Regions from separate parts of the Homo sapiens genome. Here region 2 is linked to region 1. The links are contacts of gene promoters, found by promoter capture Hi-C in blood cells and fetal thymus (Javierre and others, 2016). All regions are on one chromosome and are shown on one strand. The core of a region is centred on a gene start or on the middle of the fragment in contact, and the rest is flanking DNA. Distances in the headings are between cores, read along the strand shown. Region 1 holds the start of ZNF81 (zinc finger protein 81). Region 2 holds the start of ZNF157 (zinc finger protein 157).

Region 1 (6,632 bases), core at 1,868-4,367:
GCCTGGGCGACAGAGAAAGAATCCGTCTCAAAAAAAAAAGGAGGAGCGACCTCAGCTAGCATGCTCAGCCCCTTCACTGTGTGATACCCTGTGCTACCTTGGGACTCTGCAGAAAGTCCCTACCAGAAAGAAGGCCCTCACCAGTTATTGCCCTTCAACCTTGGACTTCTCAGCCTCCGTAACTGTAAGAAATAAATTCCTTTTCTTTAGAAATTACCCAGTTTCAGGTATTCTGTTGTAAGCAACAGAAAACAGACTAAGAAACATGCATATCCTAGGTTTCTTGTGCAAGTGTTTCTCTTGGTTACATTCATGAGAGTGGACTCACTGGATTGTTAAGGTATGTATATATTCACTGTAGGAGAAAATGCAAAAATATTTTCTAAAGTGGTTGCACTGATTTACATTCCTTCAACAGGGCAAAAAGATCCTGTTGGCCCACATACTCTCCAACTCTTGGTATTGTCAGACTTTTATGTTTTTGCAATTTGAATGGGTATAAAATGTCATTTTTATCATGTCTTGATTTGTATTTCCCTTATCACAAATGACTTTGAACATCTCTTTATATGTTTGCTGGCTCTATATCTCCTTCTTCTCTGAAGTGGTCTAACAGAACTTTCTTTTTTTTTTTTTTTTGGTACTATTATGACATCCAAGAACACTAACAGTGATTCTTGGCACTCTATTAGAAGTGTATGCATGCCAAATATGCTTCCACTGATTCCATTCTTCTTTCATTTATTCATTCAACAAACATTTGCCCAGACCAGGGATGCAGGGGCAGAATGACAAGCTGGGATAATCAAAGTTCAACTGCTATGGTTCAAATGTTTGTCTCCTCTGAAACTCATATTGAAATTGCCATTGTAACAGTATTAGGAGGTGGGGCCTTTAAAAAGTGAATAGGTCATGGAGGCTCCATTCTCATAAACTGATTAATGCTGTCACTGAGGGAATGGGTTAGTCACCTCAAGAGTGGGTTGTTATAAAGTGAGCCCAGTCCCTTGTGCTTTCTCTTTGTTCATACACTTGCTTGCCCTCTTGTCCTCTGCCATGGAATAATGCAGCAATAAGGCCCTCACCAGATGCTGGCACCAAGTTGGACTTCCCAATCTCCAGAACTATGAGCCAAATAAGCTTATTTTCTTTATAAATTACCCAATCTGTGATATTCTGTTACAGTAGCAGAAAATGGACAAAGATACCAACTCTCTAAAAAAATTAAAATGAAAATCGGACTATAAAAATCTGCCTTGCTATTCATCAGGATGGAAGAACAGACACATATAAAGCCAAATGCAAAATTCACAGGAAACATTATTTCTTCTAAGGACAGGCTGCAGTTGTAATGCCATAAAGAACCCCTACTTTAAGTGCCTATTGCTTTCTTGGTCAATGAGAAACTTTGTTCTCTACAATCATAGACTATCAGAAACTTTGCTGTTTGAAATGATATCAGTAAGAGGGAAACATCTGATTCTCATGGGAGATTCTAAGTCACTTCCAGACAGAGAAGCAAGATTCAATTTTCAACCCAGGTGCAAAGCTTTAGGCAAGAGTTATCTGGGGACACAAAATTCTACATCTAAATTGTTTCCAAGGAAACAGCACTCTGGGTTCACTTCACAGTCCAGACCTGACAATTACCCTTTACATACAGCCCTGCTTTCCTTTGAGCCCACTAAAACACTGCTTCATTTAATTTCATCTGAACTCCACTATTCCTCAAAATCCTATAAGAACTCTATCTTTTCCTTTGCTTAGTGAGCTGCCCATGGTGCCCCTGGTGTGCAGTCTCCCTTATTGATTGCTGGATCTGTCAGACTAAAAATTAGTTTGAGGCTAATTGGACTAGGACACCTCTAACCTTCGAGATTGTTAAACCGAGGGCCAGAGGGGATAAGACTGGATTGAGAGCCCCCAGCAAGTCCACACTTCAGCCTACACCAGGTCCTCTCAAAATATTTTTTTCACCTGAGGATTCAGAAAGGCTTTCAGGAGGGCACACAGGCTTCTAGCTCTGTCAGGATTCTCTGGAGGAGGAGATATTTGAACTTGATTTTGAAGGATGAATAGGCATTCTTAGGTGAAGGACTGCACGACTTCTTCCCCTTCTGCTCCAGTGACATCTCCCAGAGGGCAGGGGCATCTCCAGAATTTACACATTGGAGGTGATATGGAGCAGCAAACTGGTTGAAGGGTAGAAGCAGAGCCTTGTATTAAAGCTACATTTCCAAAGTAAGGGCACCATGACCACATATATTTTACTTCATGAGGAAATAAAAATAATAAAGTTTCCTAAAGATTTTTATTGACATATTGCATTGGACTAAGGACACATTAAAAATTATTAGTATTGGTACTACGTAGTCCCTTTTTAGCTGGGGTAGATGGAGTGGGAGATAAGGTAAATTGCTGCAGCATTCAAACCTCGCATCCAAGCCCCACAGGCACAGCAGGAGGGGAACCCAGCACTCTGAGTTCTCCCTTTTTCCCACCTCATGGCATATCCTAGGAGGGCTTGCATAACCATGATTTCTCCTCCTCCTCCTCCCCTTGTGGTATGTCCTAGGAGAAGCCTGTAACCAGCCTGACATCTCCCCGCTTCTCATCCTGTGGTATCTGCCAGGAGATAGCCGCGGCCGCCCCTGATTCTTTCCAAGAGGCCCTTCAGTTTCTCGGAGCGGTATCACACAGATCCATAGACTACAGGTCCAAAGACCCCCTCCTCCAGTTAGCCCGCCCAGAGAAACGTCCCCACCCGTGCTCCCTGCCACCAGCGGGACAGCTCCACCTGAGTTTAGAGCAGACAGCTCTAAACTCACAGCCTGCTCTGTGAGTTCAGAGGTGTCCTCATCCTCAATACGGATGGACACTCCTCCAACATGGTGTATCCCATGGGGAAGCGCGACGTGGGCGCGGCCATGTTCCCCACCTGACCACGCCGCCGAGGGGTACCGAACGTCCCAAAGCACCCACTTCCGTAACTTCTCCATGTTGACTCCTGGCTAACAGCAGCTTCAAAGGTGGTTTTGCGCACGCGCGGAACCTCCGCTTCCCTCATTCATGTGAAGTCCCAAACCCCGAAAAAGGGCGGTGCTAGGGGTAGTGACCGGAAGCGGCTGCGGTTCTCGCCGGTTCTCAGCCGGGGTTTGATAGTTGTCAGGAGGATTCGACGTTCAGTGCCCAGGGATGTGGAGGTGATGGGGGGCCGGGGAGGGTGAGTGCTGGGCGATTCTGTGTGGCCAGTGATGGAATCGTTTATCTAACTTGAGTTGGATGATTCACTCATCATTTTGCAGGCTTTTCTCTTTTCTAACATCACCGTTAAGGTCTTAAAGTTCATTCTAAGCCCCATTGGGTTTGGAGCATTATGTTTTTTAAGAGTGTTAACTTGTATTCATTTGTCTTTTACCCGGGAGTTATTCAAAAGTGGGGTTTCAGTGTGCAAAAGTTTATCTCTGTAATGGATCTCTAACCTTAGTTTTCTGTGTTAGAAAAATATCTACGTGAAGCTCATTCCTTGAAATATAAGGAGACTTATGGCCTAGTCCGTGGTGAATTTTTAGAAACGTTCTATATATAACTTGAAAATAATATTTAATTATTTAGTCGTCAATTGTGTCATAGAAAATCTATCCTTTTTTGTCTGCTTCTTCTATTACTTCGAGGAGAGAGAAATTCTCCACTGTGATGGTGATTTGTCTGTGTCTCCTTACTGCTGTCTGTGATCCTCTGTGAGTTACTTTTTGTATAAAGTATGAGACTTAGGTCGAGGTGCATTAATTTGCTTATGGATGTCCAGACTGAAGCACCATTTGTTGAAAAGACTATCTTTCCTCCATTGACTTGTCTTTCACCATTGTCAAAAATAAGTTGGCCATACTTGTGTGTGGGCTCTTTCTGGGTTTGCTATTCAGTTCATTGTCTATGTGTCTATCCCTCTGCCAGTACTACCTTGCTGTCTTGAATTGGATAGAGTGATTCCTCTCACTTTATTCTTTTTCAAAATTGTTTTAATGCCTCTGGTTCCCTTGCCTTTCCTATATGCATTTTAGAAAATCTTGTCTCTATCTACAAAGCATCTTGCTTGGATTTTGATAGGAATTGCATTAAACCTGTATACCAACTCGGGAAGAAGTTAAGTCTTAACTGTGCCAAGTCTTCCAATCCATATACATAGTATGTCTCTCTATTTATTTAGATCTTTTAAAATTTCTATAAATGGTGTATTTTAATTTTCATCACCCAAGTTCTGTACATGTCTTATTCAATTTATACCTAAGTATTTAATTGTTTTGGAGTGGTCATAAATGGTGTTATCTTTTAAATTGTTGCTTATATATAGGAATACAATTGAGTTTTGTCTGTTGGTCTTGTATCCTGCAATCTTGCTGAGCTCAATTATTAGGTTTTACACCTTTTTTGGCAGATTCCTTGGATTTTCTGCATGAGCAATCATGTCATATACAAACAGGGATAGTTTTATTTCTTTCTTTCCAATCTTTATACCTCTGCTTTTCTTCCCTTATTACACTGGCAAGAAGTTCCAGTACTATGTTGAATAAGAGAGTGGACATCTTTGCATTGTTTTCAGTCTTAGGGGGAAAATATTCAACCTTTTACCATTAAGTATGATTTTAGCTGTAGGGCTTTCTTTTTTTGGACCCTCTTTTTTGGTTGAGGAAGTTCCCCTCTATTTTTAATTTCAAAAGTAGTTTTTATCGTGAATGGGTGTTGAATTTCATCAACACTCTGAATTTTGATGATCTTGTGATTTTTTTTCTTTTTTAGCTTGTCAGTATGGAGGGTTATGCTGATTGATTTTTGAATATTGAACTAGTCTTACATTCCTGGAATAAACCCTACTTGGTTGTGATGTATAATTCTTTGGATATATTGAAGGAATTGATTAGCTAATGCTTTTTTGAGGATTTTTGCATCTAAGTTCATGGGAAATATTTGTCTATAGTTTTCTTTTTTATACTATCTTTGTCTGGTTTTATTTTTTATTTTTGAGACAGGCTCTCACTCTGTTCCTCAGGCTGGAATGCAGTGGTGTGACCATGGCTTACTGCAGCCTTGACCTCCCAGCCTCAAGTGATTCTTCCACCTCAGCCTCCTGAGTAGCTGGGACTCCAGGCACACGCCACCACACCCAACTAATTTTATTATTTTTTGTAAACCGGGTCTCACTATGTTGCCCAGGCTGGTCTCAATCTCCTGGGCTCAAATAGTCCTCCTGCCTCAGCCTCTCAAAGTGCTGGGATTACAGGTGTTAGCCACTGCTCTTGGCTTTGTCTGGTTTTAGTATTAGGGTAATACTGGCCTCATTGAATGAGTTGGGGACTATTTCCTCCTCTTCTGTTTTCTGGAAGAGACTGTGTAGAATAAGTACTAATTTTTATTTAAATATTTAAATATTTGGTAGACTTCTCCAGTGAAGCCATCTGGGCCTGGAAACTTCCATTTGGAAGCTTTTTGATCATGGCTTCAATGTCTGTAATAGTTATGTAACTATTCAGATTATCTATTTAATATCATTTTAGACTACAGGTTAAGCATCCCTAATTCAAAAATCTGAAATCCAAAATGCTTCAAAATCCAAAACTTTCTGAGTGCCAACATAATGCCACAAGCAAAATTTCACACCTGATTTTGTGACAGGTCACAGTCAAAATGCAGTGAAAACTTTGTTTCATGCACAAAATTATTAAACATGTTATATAAAATTACCTTCAGGCTATGTTATAAGGTAACATAGTGTACATGAAACATAAATGAATTCTGTGTGTATACTTGGGTCTCATTCTGCAAGATACTTTATTATGTATATGCATATATTCCAAAATAAAAAAAAACTGAAATCTGAAACACTTCTGTTCCCAAGCATTTTGGATAAGAGACATTCAACCTGCATTTAATAGTGGGTGAATTGTGGTACTTTGCATTTTACAAGGAATTGGACTGTTTCATCCAAGTTGTTGAATTTATGTGCACAAAGTTGTTGTGGTATTCCCTTACTATCCTTTTAATGCAAGCTTGTCCAACCCGCTGTCCGTGGGCCACATGTGGCTCCGGACAGCTTGGAATGCAGCCCAACACAAATTCGTAAACTTTCTTAAAATATTGTGAGTTTTTTTTGCATTTTTTTTAAAGCTCATCAGCTATCGTTAGTGTTAGTGTATTTTATGTGTGGTGAAAGACAATTCTTCTTCCAGTGGGGCCCAGGGAAGCCAAAAGATTAGATACCCCTGTTTTAATGGCTGCAGGATCTGCAGTTACATCTCTGTGTTTCATTTCTAATATTGGTAATTTGTGTCTTCATGTCTTCTCTCTCTTTTTTTTTTTTTTTTTGCAGAGACAAGTGAACATTTATTTTTGTGCCTTTCTTCCTATGTGTATTTCGAGTCTTTTTCAAAACAAGTCCCCAGGAATCTCCAGATTCAATTATGTCCCTGGGCTTGGTCGACTGCTGCAGGATTCTTAGGAAGCATTATACAAATGCTAGAGTTACTCATTAACCAACATTAAACCCTAGGATAGAAGATGCAGCAAAGCAGGACTCCTTCCTCCGTGGAATGTGCTGATTTCAGATGAGGCCGCAGCCAATGTAGAAAATGCTGGAA
Region 2 (6,342 bases), core at 109-2,608, 470 kb before region 1:
GGCTGGAGTGCAGTGGCGCCATCAGAGGTCACTGCAGCCTCAACCTCTCAGGCTTCTTAAGCTATCCTTCTGCTTCAGCTTCCTTAGTAGCTGGCACTACAGGTGTGGACCACCACACTCGGATTATTTTATTTCTTGTAAAGACAGCGTCTCACTTTGTTGCCAAGGCTGGTTTCGAACTCCTGGACTCAAGCAACCCTCCTGTCTTGGCCTCCCAAAGTTCTGAGATTACAGGCATGAGCCACTGTGCCCAGCCCACTCTATTTCATCTTCTCTTGTGTGAGCTAGAGCCCACAAAACAATTTTGGGTTATAGCAGACAGTACTAATTTTGTGGCAATAGCTTCATCATTTTACTTTTTAGCATGGTGTTTCAGAGTTATGTTTCATAATTGATTTTTGTGGCACTTAAGTTATTTACTTTTTCCATGATTTTAGTTTGAGCTTATATTAGTAATGGCTGCTGAATTGCGTTGGATGCTTTTTTGGTGTAAGTTAACAGCAGAGTGTTTCCCTCTGTAATTTGTTGATGTAATACATAACATTAGGCCTGGTGCAGTGGCTCACACCTGTAATCCCAGCACTTTGGGAGGCCAAGGCGGGAGGATCACTTGAGGTCAGGAGTTCGAGACCAGCCTGACCAACATAGTGAAAACCCGTCTCTACTAAAAATACAAACATTAGCTGGGCGTGGTGGCGGGCGCCTGTAATCCCAGCCACTAGGGAGGCTGAGGCAGGAGAATCCCTTGAACCTGGGAGGCGGAGGTTGCTGTGAGCTGAGATCGCACCATTCCACTGCAGCCTGGGTGACAAGAGTGAAACTCCATCTCAAAAAAAAAAAAAAAAAAAAGAAAAAATACATAACATTATTAAGATTGAACCATTTTTTTCTGGAAAGAAGAGGCTAAAAGCTTCCCAGTAAAAGAATTTAAGAGGGATATTTCATCTAAGAGTGGAAAAAAACAAAAGACGGCAGAAGAAAGGACCAGCCGATTTCCTTTCATTTAGATTATCAGCTTTCCAGGTTTCCTGCCCTCACAGTCACCCACCAGGTCCCCTTGAACCTGCCCACCCCATGGGCCTTAAGCACCCTTAAGCACTGCCCCAGTTCTACTTCTCCTAAACCCAGATCTGCCTTGAACTTGAACTGAGGTGTAGGCTGGCTGAGTAGCGAGTGAAGCACCTGGTAGAGCCACTCAAGAAGGGACCCCAAGCTCATTAATTTGGCCCCAAATTTGATCATTTTGTAATCCACCTTGACTCATGCTCTGGGGATGCTGAACATTGTGGCGTGAATGTGGGATGACACTGATGATATGGATACTGTCCTTTTAGGATTTCTTGGTGTCTCTGTGGAGCCATTGAGCCTTACCCCTTACTGGAGGCTGCAGGACCCTCTACACACAGACAGCTGTCCAGCACGGAAGGTGGGCTGAGGCCCAGGGTGAACATGCCAGCTAATGGGACATCACCCCAGAGATTCCCTGCCCTGATTCCAGGAGAACCTGGCAGATCTTTTGAGGTAAGGAGGAGGATCCTATTTTTTTCTATATGTTCTTTATTTTTTTATTTATTTTTAGTTAAATTTATATTTTGAGATAATTGTAGATTCAAATGCAATGTACCATTTACCTAGTTTTTGTCCCCAGTAGTAACATCTCGTAATACCCAGGATATTGACATGCAGAGCATTTCCATCCCCACAAGGATCCCCCATGTTGTCATTAAATAGACACAACCACTTCACTTCCTCCATCACTCCCCTCTTAACCCTGGGGCACCACCAATCTGTTCTCCAATACTATAATTTTTTCATTTCAAGAATGTTGTGGCTGGACGTGGTGGCTCACGCCTGTCACCTGTAATCCCAGCACTTTGGGAGGCCGAGGCGGGTGGATCACTTGCGGCCAGGAGTTTGAGACCAGCCTGGCCAACATAGTGAAACCCTGTTTGTACTAAAAATACAAAAATTAACCAGGTGTTGTGGCACGCACCTGTACTCCCAGCTACTCGGGAGGTTGAGACCGGAAAATCGCTTGAACCTGGAGGCGGAGGTTGCAGTAAGCCAAGATCGTGCCACTGCACTCTGCCTGGGTGACAGAGTGAGACCCTGTCTCAAAAAAAAAAAAAAGTTTTATTTGCCGGGCATGGCAGCTCATGCCTGTAATCCCAGCTCTTAGGGAGGCAGAAGCAGGAGGATAGTTTGAGCCTAGGAGTTTGAGACCTGCCTGGGCAATATAGTGAGACCCTGTTCTCCACAAAAAGGAAAAAAAGGACAAAAAAGAGAGACTGTTATATTAATCAGATTGTACAGTATGTACCTTTTGGGACTGGCTTTCGTCATTCAGCAAAATTCTGTGGAGATATCAATAGCTAACAGTATATCAATAGTTCATTCATTTTTTTTGAGACAGAGTCTTGCCCTGTCACCCAGGCTGGACTGCAATGGCGTGATCTTGGCTCACTGCAACCTCTGCTTCCCGGGTTCAAGCTATTCTCCTGCCTCAGCCTCCCGAGTAGCTGGTATTACAAGTGCGTGCCACCACACCTGGCTAATTTTTTGTATCTTTAGTAGAGACGGGGTTTCACCATGTTGGCCAGGCTGGTCTTGAACTCCTGACCTCGTGATCCACCTGCCTCAGCCTCCCAAAGTGCTGGGATTACAGGCGTAAGCCACCGTGCCCTGCCCATTCCTTTTATTGCTGATACTTTTCCATCGCATGGATGTACCAAACAGTATAACCATTCACTGGTTGAAAGACATCTTGGTTGTTTCTAGTTGTTGGATATTATGAATAAAGATCCTATAATAGTTTGTGTAAGGTTTTTGTAGGGGTGTGATACTGTGAAATATATAATTGGTCTTTCCTGGCAAACAACTCCTAATATCCTCGGAATCTCTAAAGTACTAAAGTGTCTTTTTGTATGCTAATGAGTTGACTGATGCCTGGCAGTCCCTAGGCAGCTTCCGAATGGGGCTGGTCACCAGAAAGACTAAGGTAGGTTTAGAGGGTTGGGACCCTCCAACCACCTGGGAGGGGAGAGGGTGCTGAGAGTCAAGTCGATCCACAAGGGCAAATGATTTAATCAATCATGCCTACATAATGAAGCCCCCCTAAAGCCCCAAAAGGATAAAGTCTGGAGAGCTTCTGGGTAGCCGAACACATGGGGGTTCCTGGAGGGTGGTGCACCCAGAGAGCGCATGAAGACTCCAGGCCCCTTCCCACATGCCTTGCCCTATGTATCTCTTTATTTGGCTGTGATTTATTTGTATTCTTTTTTTTTTTTTTTTTGAGATGGAGTTTCGCTCTTGTTGCACAGGCTGGAGTGCAATGGCGTGATCTTGGCTCACTGCAAACTCCACCTCCTGGATTCAAGTGATTCTCCTGCCTCAGCCTCCCAAGTAGCTGGGATCACAGGCATATGCCACCACGCCCAGCTAATTTTGTATTTTTAGTAGAGATGAGGTTTCTCCATGTTGGTCAGGCTGGTCTCAAACTCCCGACCTCAGGTGATCCACCTGCCTTGGCCTCCAAAAGTGCTGGGATTACTGGTGTGAGCCACCATGCCCGGCCTGAATTTGTATTCTTTAAAATATCCTTTATTGGTGGGAGAGGCCGGAGAATTGCTTGAGTTCAGGAATTCAAGACCAGCCTGGGCAACAAAGTGAGACCTCATTACTACAAAAAATAAAGCTCAGGTGGGGCACGGTGGCTCATGCCTGTAATTCCAGCACTTTGGGAGGCCGAGGTGGGAGGATCGCTTGAGGTCAGGAGTTCAAGACTAGCCTGACCAACATGATAAAACCTCATCTCTACTAAAAATACAAAATTTAGCTGGGTGTGGTGGCGGGCACCTGTAATCCAGCTACTCGGGAGGCTGAGGTAGGAGAATCACTTGAACCTGTGAGGCGGAGGTTGCAGTGAGCCGAGGTCGCACCACTGCACTCTAGCCTGGGCAAAAGAGCGAGACTCTGTCTTAAAAAAAAATCCTTTATAATAAATCAGTAAACATAGTCAGTTTTGTGTTTCCTGTTGAGGGTGAGCGGCCACTGTCTGGGCCGGTGGCTCACAGGTAAAAGAATTTACCACGACAGTTGTAGGTAAAGAAAGGCAGATTTATTAGAGAAAGGAGGAAAATACATTGCAAGAGAGCAACAGGTAGAATCAGCAAAAGAGGAACTGACTTCGAGGAAATGAAGGCTTGCTGGAGATTTTATAGGATGGTTCTTGGGCTGTTTGATAACGCCAAGGTAGCAGGGAGCTAACTTGCATTCTTCTGTCAGCCAAGGTGTTTGATGATGAATTGGAGTGTTTGATGATAAGCAGGAAGTTTGTGAGTTATGTACATTATTTGCTCAAGAAGACTATATGTCCTGGGCCATAAAGAAAGACAGACCTATAACTTAAACTTATCTGCATCTTCTTTTTGTTTATATGTCCTGGAGCAACTCCTTTTCCCTAATTAGGACTCCACATTTCCCTGAGTTTTTTTTTTTTTTTTTTAAATGCAGGGTCTCTCTGTCGCCCAGGCTGGAGTGCAGTGACAGCTTGCTTACTGCAGCCTCAGCCTCCCGGGTTCAAGTGATCCTTCCAAGTAGCTAGGACCACAGGTGTGTGCCACCACGCCCGGCTAATTAAAAAAAATTTTTTTTTTTTTAACAGATGAGGTGTCACTTTGTTTCCCAGGCTGGTCTTGAACTCCTGGCCTCAATCAATTCTCTCTCCTTAGCCTCCCAAAGTGCTGGCATTACAGGCATGAGCCACTACTCCCAGCCTTTCCTTGAGTTCTATGAGCCACTCTAGCAAATTAATTGAACCCTAGGAGGGGATTGTGGGAAGCTTGACTTGTAGCTGGTCAGTACGAAGCTCTGGAGTCTGAAGTGGGGGTAGTCTTCAGAACTGAGCCCTCAACCTGTGGGACCTGATGCTATATCCTGGCAGATAGTGTCAGAATGGAATTGAATTGGAGGACACCCAGCTGTTGTCTACTGCAGAATTGACCTCTTGCTTGATGTGTGAGGAAAATCCCTCACTCATCTGTTGTCACAGCATGTTATGAGAGTCTAGTAGGAGAAACTGTGTTTGTATTTCTACTCCTACACAGTGGGGTAAATGCATGTGAGAACAATTGTGGGATTGTATGCCAAGTGCATATAGAACAGAATTAATAGACAATCTTTTTTTTTTTTTTTTTTTGAGACAGAGTCTCACTCTATCACCCAGGCTGGAGTGCAGTGATGTGATCTTGGCTCACTGCAACCTCTGCCTCCCCGGCCCAAGCGATTCTCATGCCTTAGCCTCCTGAGTAGCTGGGATTACAGGCACCCAACACCATACCCTGCTAATTTTTTGTATTTTTAGTACAGACAGCGTTTCACCATGTTGGCCAGACTGGTCTCCAACTCCTGACCTCAGGTGATCCACCCGCCTTGGCCTCCCAAAATGCTGGGATTACAGGTGTGAGCCACCACGCCCAGCAATCTTTTTTTTTTTTTTTTTTTTTTGTGAGATGGAGTCTCGATCTGTCACCCAGGCTGGAGTGCAGTGATGCAATCTCGGCTCACTGCCACCTCTGCCTCCCAGCTTCAAGCTATTCTCCTGCCTCAGCCTCCCAAGTAGCTGGGATTACAGGCACCCGCCACCATGCCTGGCTAATTTTTTTGTATTTTTAGTAGACATGGGGTTTCACCATGTTGGCCAGGTTGGTCTCAAGCTCCTGACCTCAGCCTCCCAAAGTTCTGGGATTACAGGCGTGAGCCCTGAGCCCGGCTGACAATCTTTTTTTTTTTTTTTTTTTTTTTTTTTTTTTTTTTTCAGACAGAGTCTTGCTCTGTCACCCAGGCTGGAGTGCAGTGGCACGATCTTGGCTCACTGCAACCTCTGCCTCCCGGGTTCAAGTAATTCTCCTGCCTCAGCCTCCCGAGTAGCTGGGATTACAGGTGTGCACCACCATGCCTGGCTAATTTTTGTATTTTTAGTAGAGACAGGGTTTCACCATGTTGGCCAGGCTGGCCTTGAACTCCTGACCTTGTGATCCACCCACCTCGGCCTCCCAAAGTGCTGGGATTATAGGCATGAGCCATGGTGCCTGGCTGATAATCATTTTTAATACAGTTTTAGAGGTACAGAAAAGTTAAGATAGTACCTATAATTCCATATGCTGTCACCTCCTCAACCCCCCCCACAACTGGTGCAGTTTTCCCTATTATTCACATCTTGCATTAGTGTGGTACATTTGTAAAAATTAATGAACTGATAGTGATATATTACTATTAATTTTAGCCTACAGTTTATAGTAAGGCTCACTGCTTTGTGTTGTACATAGGGGTTTTGGCAAATAG

What was found. Contacts are between HindIII fragments. The CHiCAGO score rates a contact against its expected background, and 5 or more counts as called.
Region 2: a contact is called between the fragment with the promoter of ZNF157 here and the fragment with the promoter of ZNF81 in region 1, in 1 of 17 cell types (non-activated CD4 T cells). The highest score is 6.1, in non-activated CD4 T cells.

Annotation. Positions count from the first base shown.
Region 1 is chrX:47,833,785-47,840,416 of GRCh38, forward strand. It overlaps ZNF81 (zinc finger protein 81), which reads left to right and starts at 3,118. Exons shown (of 5, transcript NM_007137.5): 1 at 3,118-3,203. RefSeq lists an enhancer at 2,866-3,245. The HindIII fragment of the contact is 3,931 bases long and covers 1,548-5,478 here.
Region 2 is chrX:47,369,220-47,375,561 of GRCh38, forward strand. ZNF157 (zinc finger protein 157) reads left to right here and starts at 1,359. Exons shown (of 4, transcript NM_003446.4): 1 at 1,359-1,521. The coding sequence starts at 1,450. The HindIII fragment of the contact is 3,930 bases long and covers 909-4,838 here.